2 separate regions of the Homo sapiens genome follow, and region 1 is linked to region 2. Evidence: promoter capture Hi-C in human tissues and cell types (Jung and others, 2019). All regions are on one chromosome and are shown on one strand. The core of a region is centred on a gene start or on the middle of the fragment in contact, and the rest is flanking DNA. Distances in the headings are between cores, read along the strand shown. Region 1 overlaps LRRC4C (leucine rich repeat containing 4C). Region 2 holds the start of TTC17 (tetratricopeptide repeat domain 17).

What was found. Contacts are between HindIII fragments. The study calls those that stand out against the background at their distance.
Region 1: a contact is called between a fragment that was not itself captured here and the fragment with the promoter of TTC17 in region 2, in 1 of the 25 tissues and cell types used here (dorsolateral prefrontal cortex).

Annotation. Positions count from the first base shown.
Region 1 is chr11:41,448,851-41,454,812 of GRCh38, forward strand. The region is part of intron 1 of LRRC4C (leucine rich repeat containing 4C); the gene reads right to left. Among named protein-coding and RNA genes, the nearest start is that of LRRC4C, 7.8 kb to the right of the region's middle. The HindIII fragment of the contact is 5,960 bases long and covers 1-4,346 here.
Region 2 is chr11:43,356,665-43,362,726 of GRCh38, forward strand. TTC17 (tetratricopeptide repeat domain 17) reads left to right here and starts at 2,256. Exons shown (of 24, transcript NM_018259.6): 1 at 2,256-2,449. The coding sequence starts at 2,291. RefSeq lists an enhancer at 2,115-2,384 and a silencer at 2,515-2,594. The HindIII fragment of the contact is 5,896 bases long and covers 1,589-6,062 here.

The DNA.
Region 1 (5,962 bases), core at 117-2,616, 1.9 Mb before region 2:
ATTTTTATAATAAATGTAAACTTTTAAACACATAGTAAGTGCTGAATACAAGCTAGTTGTTATCATGATCTTGATTTGACAGATAAGAATATTGTACTTTTTAAAAGATACTTACATCTAATGACAGAGAAATGAGATAGTTGTCAAATATATAACCAGAGTTTGCAGATTGGGAAGATTTGAGTTAATTATGCAAAGGTAGTCTCTATTCTTCACTTCTAGCAAGGAAGCTGTGGAGTAGGGTAGCCAATATTGCAAGGCTGGAGCTAGCAGAAGCATTGCCTCTAATTTGAAGCCCTAGGCTACTTAAAACCGTGTAAGTGTACAGAACAGAGGCTAGAGCAAAGGATGTAGATTTGAAAAGGTTTGAAGACATCGTCAAAACAGAAAGTGGGCCTGGGGGCTTAGGCAGATGTTGGAAAAGTTGGAGCTAAATATGAAGTTGAAGTAAAAACCCAGGAAGAAGGAAGCAAGAAACCAAGAAACTCTAGCAGGCCATCAGGCGAGAGAATAATCTGAATAAATGTCAAAGATAGGAGGTGTTGCCTAATACTAGCTTGATTTTGTATCTTCTGTGGCTTCCACTGGGTAAGAAGGGTAGGAAAAAAGATGACATAAGGAGCAAAAAAAAATGTCCCTATATTCTGGCCCTGAAAATCACTAACTACTGTGAGGGGTGAGTAAAATAGATAGAAAGGCAGGTTTTTCTGGAACCATACCCAGGCCCAGACAGGAGAGCAAATTAGCTGTTTCTCTGTTTCTCAACCTCCTATCTCTGCTCTCATCAGGGAAGAAGATCAAGGTGTTATTCAAACAGGCACCTGGTAAGTGACTCTCTACTGGCCTCCCCCGACCCCTACCCAGGGATGATAGTAATGACCAAAGATTCAGTCTGAGCAGTTAGTTTCCTCTTGATGGAAAAAAAAAAAAAAAAAGCTTTTTCGCTTCTTTAAGTAGATGTGGTCAGAAGTAGAGCTGACTCTCTTCAAATAGTCTCCCTTTTGCCTTTCCTGGACCCTTATCTTGGATCCAGATTCTAAGCCAAGAAAAATAAACATCCTATGAAACTACCTGGCAAATTTCTAAATGTATTATTGTGAAACTGTCATCCCTCTAGCTTGAGAGAAATAGAAACTGGCTTCTACTCAAAGCAGACAAACTGTCTCTCTCATCTCTGAAAACTAAAAATCTAAAAAGAAAAAATTAGGCTGAATACTAGAAGGTCAGAGAGTGGCCTTTTTGTCAACTCTTCATGGTTGTGTTAAGTGCCATTCCATTCTGAGCTGGCAGTTCTTAGACATGTTTCCCTCTAGAACATAACACTAGAGATGCTTGGACCATCTGTCTGTCCGACAGACCATCTGTACAAGGCACTGGCACCCCTTCCAGAAAATAGAAGAGAAACTGAGGACACTAAATAGGTGAGTCTCTGTGTCTCTGTTTTCTAAGCTCTCTGGCAATAATTGGTAAAAGAGAAAAAGGAGTCCAGGAAAATTGTTTACATTTAAAAAAATGTTATAGCAAAGGTGGAAAATATTTTCATACAAGCAACCACAGAAATATTTAAAAGGTAATAGAAAAAAGTAACTGTTTCTGGCTTTAAGTGTTAGGCAAGCTAATGCACAAACTGAGAGGAATAAAGGCACCAGGGCTTTGTAGACAGACGCAACTAGGCAGACATTCAGGTAGACACTGCTTTTAATGAGTTTTTATCTTGGGCAAATCACAAGTTGTCTATGGCTCAGTTTCCTCATCTGTATCCTGAGAATAATGATGCCCCCTGTATGCAACTATAAAGTTTTTAATATATCATCTGAAATACCATAGAATTAAATGTGTGACAGCTATTGTGTCAATTTTGTGGGTTTTTACAAGGCTCTCTACGGGGCTCCAACCTATATCTTCATTCCTTCCTACCAAATACTTTTTGATGTATTTCCTTACTCTATTAGCACTGATATATGCAAAGTTATAATTTCTTCTAATTTCTCCTCGGAAACATTATCACTGCTTCACAATATACATATTTAAGACAAACCTCAAATTCCCCTTCCTTCTTTAATCTTTCCCAACCACAAATTCCTCAGGGATAACTCTCTTCTCTGAGTTTTACGTGCTGACTTTATTATTTTTTGGTTCTGAATCCTGTGCTGCCTTGTTTAGCAAGTTAATTGCTCCTCTGTCAATATAATGTCAACAATAATATAGGAACACATTTGAGGGAAAAATCGGATTGTTTACAACTTTGTGCTCCACATCATAACTGTGATAGAACAGTGAGTCTAGTAGGTGTTTAATAAACAAATTTTGAATAAATGACACCATCGAAATGACTACAGAAGCAAAAGAATGTACTGTTACCCACAAGAACATTCATTGAGAATTCTGACTGACTTATGCAAAAGTGTTCTTGACCTAAATCCATGACATCGTTCTGAGGTTCAGGAATAGGAATAGGGTTATTTTAAAAACTAAACACCCCCACCCACATAGACATACATAGATATAGATATAGATATAGATTTTGTGTGTGTGTGTGTGTATGTGTATTTATGTATATGGTGCTGGACAAATTAGTCTTGGAGAAAAATATGTATTAGATAGGAAGAACAGAATTCCATTTAGCAAAAGCTTAAAAAAAATGCAGCAGTGCTTATAGTGATGGAAGAGATGAAAATCAAACTTGAAGCAGCACAAACACATCCAGGAGAGTCATGGCAGTGAGGCATGACAGGTCAAGGATAAAGAAAGGGAAAACAGGAAATAGCATCAACCAGATGAACACAGGAAGAAGTTAGGTATTCATGAGCAAAACAGACCTATTTCATGAAAGTGCTGGCAGCCAGGGGAACACTCAGAAAAATTTTAAACTATTTTTATATCTGCTCTTACTTGGGCACTGGAATCAGAACAGGTTGACTGATAATATGTTTAATGCTTAATAGTAGTCCAGGTACCTTGGTAGAGAAAATGACCCTGAGCAAAAGTCACATATAAACATGGCTTTCCTTTTGAAGAAGGGAGAGTAGAGTTTTTTCCTTGTATGTATCTGTATTCAGACTGCTGTCACTATGCATGGTGGATGTCTCCAACAGCAAAAAATTAGCAAACCCATCCACTGTCTGTGTTATTAATCATTTGCTTGTTTTCAGGAAAGAGTATGCCTTTATTAGATTGATTTTTTCCTAAATGTTTTCACTTCACACATATTTTTTACTATGTTATTCAAACATTTGTCTCAACTTATATGGATTATTTTCTTTACTTCTTCCATTTGGAGTATCTACTGGGGTCAAGGTATATATGGTCACAGGTTTTAATTCCAATCATATGGTTGAAAAAATGTACACCCTGCACCATTGTGTGCTTACTTGGCCTTTGTTTCTGTGACTTGTTACCTAAAGCATGAATGTATAAATTGAAAGGACTTACACAAGGAATTGAAATCTCTCATCTTTAAGTAACTTATTATCAAATATTCAACATGCTAATGTGTTTGCTCAATAGATATGTAAAGGAACAGCTAGAACATCAAAAACAGATAAAATATAATTGAATATCTACATTATGTAAAAAAGCTAGAGGATTTTTACAGGGATTAGAGAAAAGTTGGTGTTAAAATTTTCTTTGTTCCTTGACAGTTTTAAGTGGAAGAAAGATTGCTATTTCCTCTCTTTTTCAAGAAAGCTTTCATAATATGACCTTTTCTCTTGTTTACAGCCAAGCAATGAGTTTAATGGCTCACATTTTAGAACCTGACTTTAGAAAGAATTCCCCAGTTTATGAAATTCTGAATTCGTTCTCTTTCTTTCTCTGGTCTCCTTGAATGTTCTGTACCAGTCACTCTTTTTCCATCATGTCCCCCACTGACATCAATATGTTGAAAGATAATTTCCCTCCTCTGTTTTATATTTTTATAAGTAGACAAACAAGAATATTTGCTTCTCTGTTTATTCATGTGCTGGTAATAATTTGTATCGTCTCTGGCACTGCAGAGTACAACAACATTTATACAAACTGAAACTGCTAAGTTATTATCATAATTACTATTACTACTAATGATTATAAGTAAATTTAATTATTATAATAATGAGATACCTTTTACTGAGTACCAATTAAATTCTAATCTCTGTTCTAGATACTTTGTGGGCATTATTTTTCTTAATCTTTTTACAACACTACAAGGTAAGATATGGAAATACAGCTACAAAAGTAACCTTCCCAAAGGTATGTTACTAATGAGACATAACATATTGGGACATGCTACCCATAAAGTAAATTCTGCAAATGCTCCTTAATGTCACTTAAGATTTAGTGTTACAGAGAAGACTTTCATTTCTTTACTTTCCTCTGTGTCCTGTAACTGCAGTACAATCATGCACATGGCATCAGACATTTTAATAAGATTTAAGTAACTGTCAAAGTTAAATAGAGATCTGCCTCAACTTATGGATTCTGCCAAAGACCACAAAAATATGGTACTGATCATGTACTATATTAGGGACCCATTGGTTCAGAGAAGCACCTTTCAGAGGCCCCTTAGAGATACTAACATCACATCTTTCCACTGATAGAGTCGGCCCTATTATGGGAATGTGATTACTTGATTTGCATTTACAGAAGGCTTGCTCTGGACTGTCTATAATTATGTGAAGAAGCATTGGGTTCACATCCTACAAATAAAAGAAACCATGGCATAAAAGAACAGACATGGGCTTTGGAGTGAGTCAGAATTTGGGGCAAATAAATCCTTTGTTTGCCTTATCTGTAGTATGGGAATAATAATGTTACCTTGCTTATTTTGTGTGTATGTGTGTGTGTGTGTGTATGTGTGTTTGTATGTGAGAAGTATAAATAATCTAACATACCTAGCACAGTGCCTGGCACATAGAATACCTTTGCTGACTCTATGAGATAATTGATTATAACATTATATTTTCTTGGTGTGTGTTGGTAATATATTTTGCAGTATATCACAAAAGGAATTTCCTTAGTTCAATGCAAAGCTTCAACCACAAATTCTGATGCTTAAGGCTGTGGTAGAGGCCAATGAACTTGTGTTTGCTGTTTTGACCAATTGACATCCCTCTTTCCTTTCTAACTCTCCTAGAATCAAATTTTATGGCATGAAGCTTTAAAATGCAGGGAGCATGGATCTTGTCTTTCTTCTCACAAAGTCATAAAGCAGACTTCATCCATTCATTTTAAGGATAAAAAGAACCCACAACCTGAAGGACAAAACCCTGTTCTCTCCATGCACAGGGAAAGGCTGACTTTGCAGTACCGAAATACCTGGGTCAAGTGGTACCAGCCGTGCAGTTAGCAAAGCAGAATTGGACTCATCACTGACAGCTCAGCTCAGCTACATTAGTAAGAACAAGGCTTTTTACATCTTTTCTGATATGTTCTTGAACAAAATAAAGGTCACACAGAATGACACAGCCCCACATAGGTCAGATTCTGGCAGAGGAATCTTAATTCTTGTTAACTATCAAGTCAAAATTCCAAGGGGCCGCCTTTAAGACTGCAGCATTCCCTGTCCAAATACAGGAATTGCAGCAAATAGCTATGAGCAGAGAATCCTTCTAATACTCCCCACAGCAATGATTGTAGCGCTTGTTCCTGGTAGGTGCTTAATAAATATGCATCCTTTTATTAACAGTGAACAAAATGAGATTTTAGATAAAGAGCAATATTAACACCTCTTGCTGACATCTGAATTGTGTTTCTGCAACCACATATGGAAAGATGCACGTGACTATTGCTCCTTATATTCGGTATCATTTTGAAAGTTCTGAGTATAAGTGAAATGACATCTGAAAAGGGTACTTAGGCTGCTCCAGAAAAGGGTCTGATGAAGCCATGGTACATGAAATGAGCTAATTTACAGAAATACAGCTTTCAGAATATAGCTTTCTGTCTCCAATTTTATTTGGCACTCAGATTAGTTTTGGGATTTTTA
Region 2 (6,062 bases), core at 1,006-3,505:
TCCCAAAAGATAAGAGTTATCATCTACAGAAAATAGGTGGTATAATAAAGCTATAGAAGCTATAATTCCACCCCTTTAGAGGTTAACTTGTGAAGGTCAAAGAAATTGCTGATAGCAAAATATGTGATGCTGGGGCCTTTCTCAAATTCCTCACTAACATTCATTCATTCTCAGGCTCTCAGATCTAGAGTCAGGTGGATCTGAGTCCAAACCTGAGCTCTACCACTTAGCAATATGATCTTGGCCAACTTACTTAACTAGCCAGAGCTTGGTAAGTTGTGACGATTAATAGGAACTATGCATGTACAGGACCCAGTACGTATTAAACACTCAAGAAATGTTAGATGATGATGATGTCAGCTTTATACACAAGAAATAGGGTTGACCTCTATGCCCCAAAAATAAGATGCTGAGACAAAAGGGATTCCATCATTTGCCACTTCTCTATTTTAAAATTCTGAAACACTCCCTATTGCCTATGTCTAAACTCCAAGAAACTCTTAAAACATGCCACTGACTTCACCTTTTCGTTTCTTGAGACGGATTCTCGCTCTGTCACTTAGGCTGGAGTGCAGTGGTGTGATCTCGGCTCACTGCAATCCCCGCCTCCCGTGTTCAAGCAATTCTCTGCCTCAGCCTCCCAAGTAGCTGGAATTACAGGTGCCCGCCACCATGCCCGGCTGATTTTTGTATTTTTAGTAGAGGCGGGGTTTCACCATCTTGGCCAGGCCAGTCTTGAACTCCTGACCTCAGTGATCCATCCACCTCGGCCTCCCAAAGTGCTGGGATTACAGGCGTGAGCCACCGCGCCCGGCCAACTTCACCTTTTCACTTATTATTCTGCCTGAACCAGCACCTGAGCTCCAAACCTTTTTTTCACCTGGTTGGTTGCTCTCTCCTGTACATATGCATTCATACACCCCCATTATCCTGTATTTTAATTGTTAACCTGCCAATAATATCTCACTATATTGCACACTGCCCAATGGTTACATTTCCATACCCAGAGACTATCAGAGTACCAGGCAAAAAGCAAATAAGCCATATATTTTTAATGAAATGAATGTTCAGTCTTCAGGCCTTTAAGAAAAGCTGTTCCTGGAATGAAGAAAAAAAAAACACCAATGCTGTGGTTGTTTCTACATTTCTATAGCGTGGTGTTTAAACACTTAGCAACTGCTCTCCTGCATACACTTGTGTAGAGAAGTGGTTAAACAATATTCTCATCCTTCTTTTCCCAAGGAGAAAACCAAAAGCATACCAACCTTAAATAACACACACAGAGGGCAATCTTGAAAGACCTAAAATGACATATCTAGCAAGAAGCTGGCAGCCAAGCTTGACGCCTGCCTGCCTGCCTGTTGGTTCACTAGAAGAAAGTGGTTCTCAAACTTTAATATGTATACCAGTCACCTGAGGCTATTGTTAAAATGTAGTCTGATTCAGCAGGTTGCGGGGGAGAGGGAGAAGAGCCGAGAATGTGCAGGTCTAAAAAGCTCCCAGGTGATGCCAATGTTTCTGGTCTCCAGACCTAGACCTCTAGCTTAGACCTGTGCTGACCAGTACGTTAGCCACATGCGGGTATTAAGCCCCTGAAATATGACTAGATAAGCTGTCAGTGTAACATGCCGATTTCCAAGACTTAGTTAAAAAAAAAAAAACTAAACTATCTCAATGATTTGTACAGACCACATTGAATTAATATTTTGTGTACTTTGAGTTAAATAAAATGTACTAGTAGGGTTACTTCCCTCTATATTTTACATTCCACACGTGGCTCGCATTATAGTGCTACTGGACAGCGGTGCCCTAAACTAACAACCGTCTCCATTCTGAAGCTTCCACTATTGTGAGACTTTAAGAATAAAAGCAACACCTCTCTTCCCATAGGTGGTTCGAAAGCACACCTTTTGTTCCCCAACTATCTACCAGAAATAAAACGAAAAAACAAAGATTTAAAAAACAATAAAATTGAGTCCTTTCACTTCTGCTTAAGCGCCACCTAAGCCACTGCTTTTGTCTCCCTCCGGTTCCCACGCTCCGAGATCGTATCACCCACAGAAAAACAATAACTAAAAAGCGGTCTCCATCCCTGAAGCCAAGCTGGGAGAGTAGCCGAAGGTCGCGCTTCCTGGCCGCCAAAACCGAGGTGGAGGAAACTTGGTAGTCAGCGAGCTACGCCCTCTCGGCTCCTCCTCCTGCTCCTCCTCCAGGGCCGACCTCTTCAAGATGGCGGGCGCCGGAGACTAGCTTCCGCTTCCGGTGTGAGCGGCCCGGCCGGGGGGGCAAGATGGCGGCGGCAGTAGGGGTTCGTGGCCGGTACGAGCTGCCGCCTTGCTCCGGCCCAGGCTGGCTCCTCAGCCTTTCCGCCTTGCTGAGTGTGGCGGCACGAGGGGCCTTCGCCACCACGCACTGGGTCGTCACGGAGGACGGGAAAATCCAGCAGCAGGTAGCGGCCGGGGCGTCCCTCTTCTCCCGTGCCCGCCCTCGCCCCGGGGGGATTACCCTGCTTGGCCCCTGGCTGTTGGGCTCCGCGCGGCCCCGCCCCCAGCCTACCCTCACAGGGAGGTGGCACCGCGACCTCGGACTCCCTGCATTCGGACCAGGCAGGCACTTCCCGCTCCCCACTTGTCTCCTGGTCCTCGTTTGGCCCCCTAGAAGTTCTCACCCTTCCACCTCGCGGGCCGCGCGCCGCGTGGGGAAGAGTCGCCCAGCTGCGGGAGACGGGCCCTACGGACCTTTTTTTAGCTCGGGGTTTAGAAATCACAGATTTCAGGATTCCTGCCTTTGGTGCCTCTCGGGTTCACGCGTCACCGGCCCTCCCCGAGGAAATAGAAAGCAGGTGGCAGCTCCAGGGTGTGCGCGAGTCCCATGGTATGACAGCTTCTGGACCCCTAGCCTGTGGACCATTCGTGCTGCTCCCCTAGTCTCGTCTACCACATGGTGGATTTCGTTTCTGGTTGTGTTGGTTTCAGCTTGTACCGTTACTCAGGTCAGCAGTGGCTCATTAGAAACAACATAGAAACACTCCCCTTCAGAAGGAATGCTTGAAGATGCCGCTGGTGGCGTTGCCTGCATCTTTTCAGCTGTTACTGCCCTCGTTTCCCAGTGCACTTTGCTTTGTTTCTTTACCTAGTTCTTGTGACCCAGCCTCGCATGGAGGATATGCGATTTCCTGGATTCTTGTATGCCTGAACTAATTCCTCAGAGGCGAGACTGCTTTTCTTATATAACTTTATGATTGCCTGCGTTTTGTAAATGCTGCTGATGCCTAACGAGTGCGTGTGTGTGTTCCGCTACAGAATATTGGTAAACTTACTGACTTCGAACACTTGAGGACAATCTTGAAGTGTCTAGCAAACATTTAGAAAGTGAATTGTGTGCCCCATGCAATTTAGCCCACTGATCTAAAACGTTTTAACTAGTGTGGTGGGAAATTACTGGTCCTTTGGATTGTGTGTAATGAATCATGATAGGAACACATTCCAACGTTTAAGGTGAGGTTTAGATTTAGATTTGCCGTGTAATGTAATTGCAAATTCTATCTCAAGTAAGTTAAGTATAACTAAAAATCCGCCTAGGTATTCATGAGTGGTTTTCAGCATATCTAAGAAAAGACCGTGTTCCTATTGGGTAACGTTTTCTATATGACATACATAAAGAACAGTTTCCTTTTCATTGCCATACTATCTGAGACTTTAAATATATGTGTATGTGTTTCAGAAACCCAAGAAAACACTGTAAGACCATATGTGAGTGCTGGTTGCTTCCACCCTTCTTTTGTTTCTTGATAGTGGTTTTCCCTGAGGTCTCTATGAAGACGTGGAATTAAGTCACTCCTGCTGCATTTTGGGGAGCCTTTCTCCTGTTGGCTCTTCTGCAATATTGTTTTTGGCCACAGCTATTTATACTCTATGACATTGACTTCTCCTTCCCATTTTGGTGTCCTACCACTCAGCTGAAAAAGTAGCCCATCTAAAAAGTGAAAGCTGGTAGAAATGTTTTATGTATATACTTAACATTGCAATGGGAAAGTAGAGTCTGATTTTTTTTTTTTTTTTAACAAATTCCTTCTTTTTGCACTTTGGATACATATGTATTAATGGGGGAAGGCAGGGGTTACTGGAAACTTGCCTCAGAGAAGCAGGGAAGAGCTGAAGAATCTTTTGGATCTCTGCCAAGTCACTGCTGAGCTAAGTAATTAGGCTTAAAGTTTAAAAAGCAAGATTTCTCTATTACATGACTTTTTAAGTGATCCTTTTCATTGAATTTTCCAATACTTTGCTATACATAACATTTACAATGTTATGTTCAGGCAGCCACAAGATTTTATGCCAGAAGAAATAAGGTTGGTGTCTGCAGTGTAACAATAAGAGGCCAGGGGAGGAAAGTTGGATTTAATCTGAAGAAAAGGCACCACATATAAATAAAGTAAAAGAATTGGGTGCTGTGGTGAGCTGCCGAGTTCCACTCTGATAGCTGATTGTGCATGACCCATGCTTCCCTTCCTGGCCATAATTTGTATGCAGGTAGAATCCAAACTATCAATTTAGATCGTGATTAATTATAATATTTGTATATACTGTACTTAAGGACTTGAAAGATCACATTAGTGTATGAAATCCATATATATTGCAGATTTGTACATTCAGAAACATAATTAAAAGCTTAGTATATACAGATGCTCCTCAGCTTATGAAGGGGTTATGTGCTGATAAACTCATTGTAAGTCGAAAATACTGTAAGTCAAAAATGCATTTAATGTACCTACCAAACATTGTAGCTTAGCCTAACCTACCTTAAACGTGCTCACAATACTTACATTAGCCAAATTTGGGCAAAATCATCTAACAGCATCTTTTACAATAAAGTATCAAAATACCTCATGTAATTCATGAATACTTCACTGAAAGTGAAAAACAGAATGGTTATATGGGCACTCAGTACAGTTGCTACCAAATGCATGTCACTTTTGCAGCATTGTAAAGTCAAGAAATTATAAGTTGAACCATCGAAAGGTGGGGACCATCTGTATACTTTGTCCTGACATACCAAATTCTTGCTGCTTATTCTTGGTTACAATATTTGAATGAGAGCATAAGTGTGATTTCAGTTTTAAAGTGACCTACTACCAGGCAAAGGGCTAAGGGCTAACTGGATTAACAGCTTTTAGAAAATTAGAGTGGTACATACCTTTTGAGAACCTTTAATATTAAACACACCCAGATTAGATATATGGGTCATTGTTTTCCACAGTGATCATAAAGAAGTACTTATGACTTAAAAATCTGAATTGTCCAACCATCATTATAACTTTTTTTTTTTTTTTTTTTGAGATGGAGTTTTGCTCTTGTTGCCCAGGCTGGAGTGCAATGGCGCTATCTTGGCTCACCACAACCTCCGCCTCCCGGGTTCAAGTGATTCTCCTGCCTCAGCATCCCGAGTAGCTGGGATTACAGGCATGCACTACCACACCCGGCTAATTTGTGTGTGTGTGTGTGTGTGTGTGTGTGTGTGTGTGTGTGTGTGTATTTTTAGTAGAGACAGGGTTTTACCATACTGGACAGGCTGGTCTCAAACTCCAAACCTTGTGATCCGCCCACCTTGGCCTCTCAAAGTGCTGGGATTACAGGCGTGAGCCGCTGTGCCCGGCCATTATAACTTTTTAAGTACATCAAGGAGTCTTTCCCAGGAGAGATGAAAATTCATTTGATTTTTTATATTTCAAGGTTTAGCAGACAATAAAGATAGGCACCCACCAGTTACATACCGCAGACTTGTCAACATGCGTATGTATTGGAAATGGTACATCCTTTGGTGGGTTGAAAAGGGGGTTAAGTAAGAGCAAGGAGCATACATTCCTGCAGGCAACCTCTTCACAGTCAGAGCTGGGGCTGCTGCAGGCAGCAGCTGGTGTCCATTACTTGGCATGATGGTTAAAGGAATTATTTCTTTTTCTTTTAGAGATGGGGGTCTTTCTTTATTGCCCAGGCTGAAGTGCATGGTTACTCCCATGCATTGCAGCCTTAATTGATCTTCCTACCTCAGCCTCCTGAGTAGGT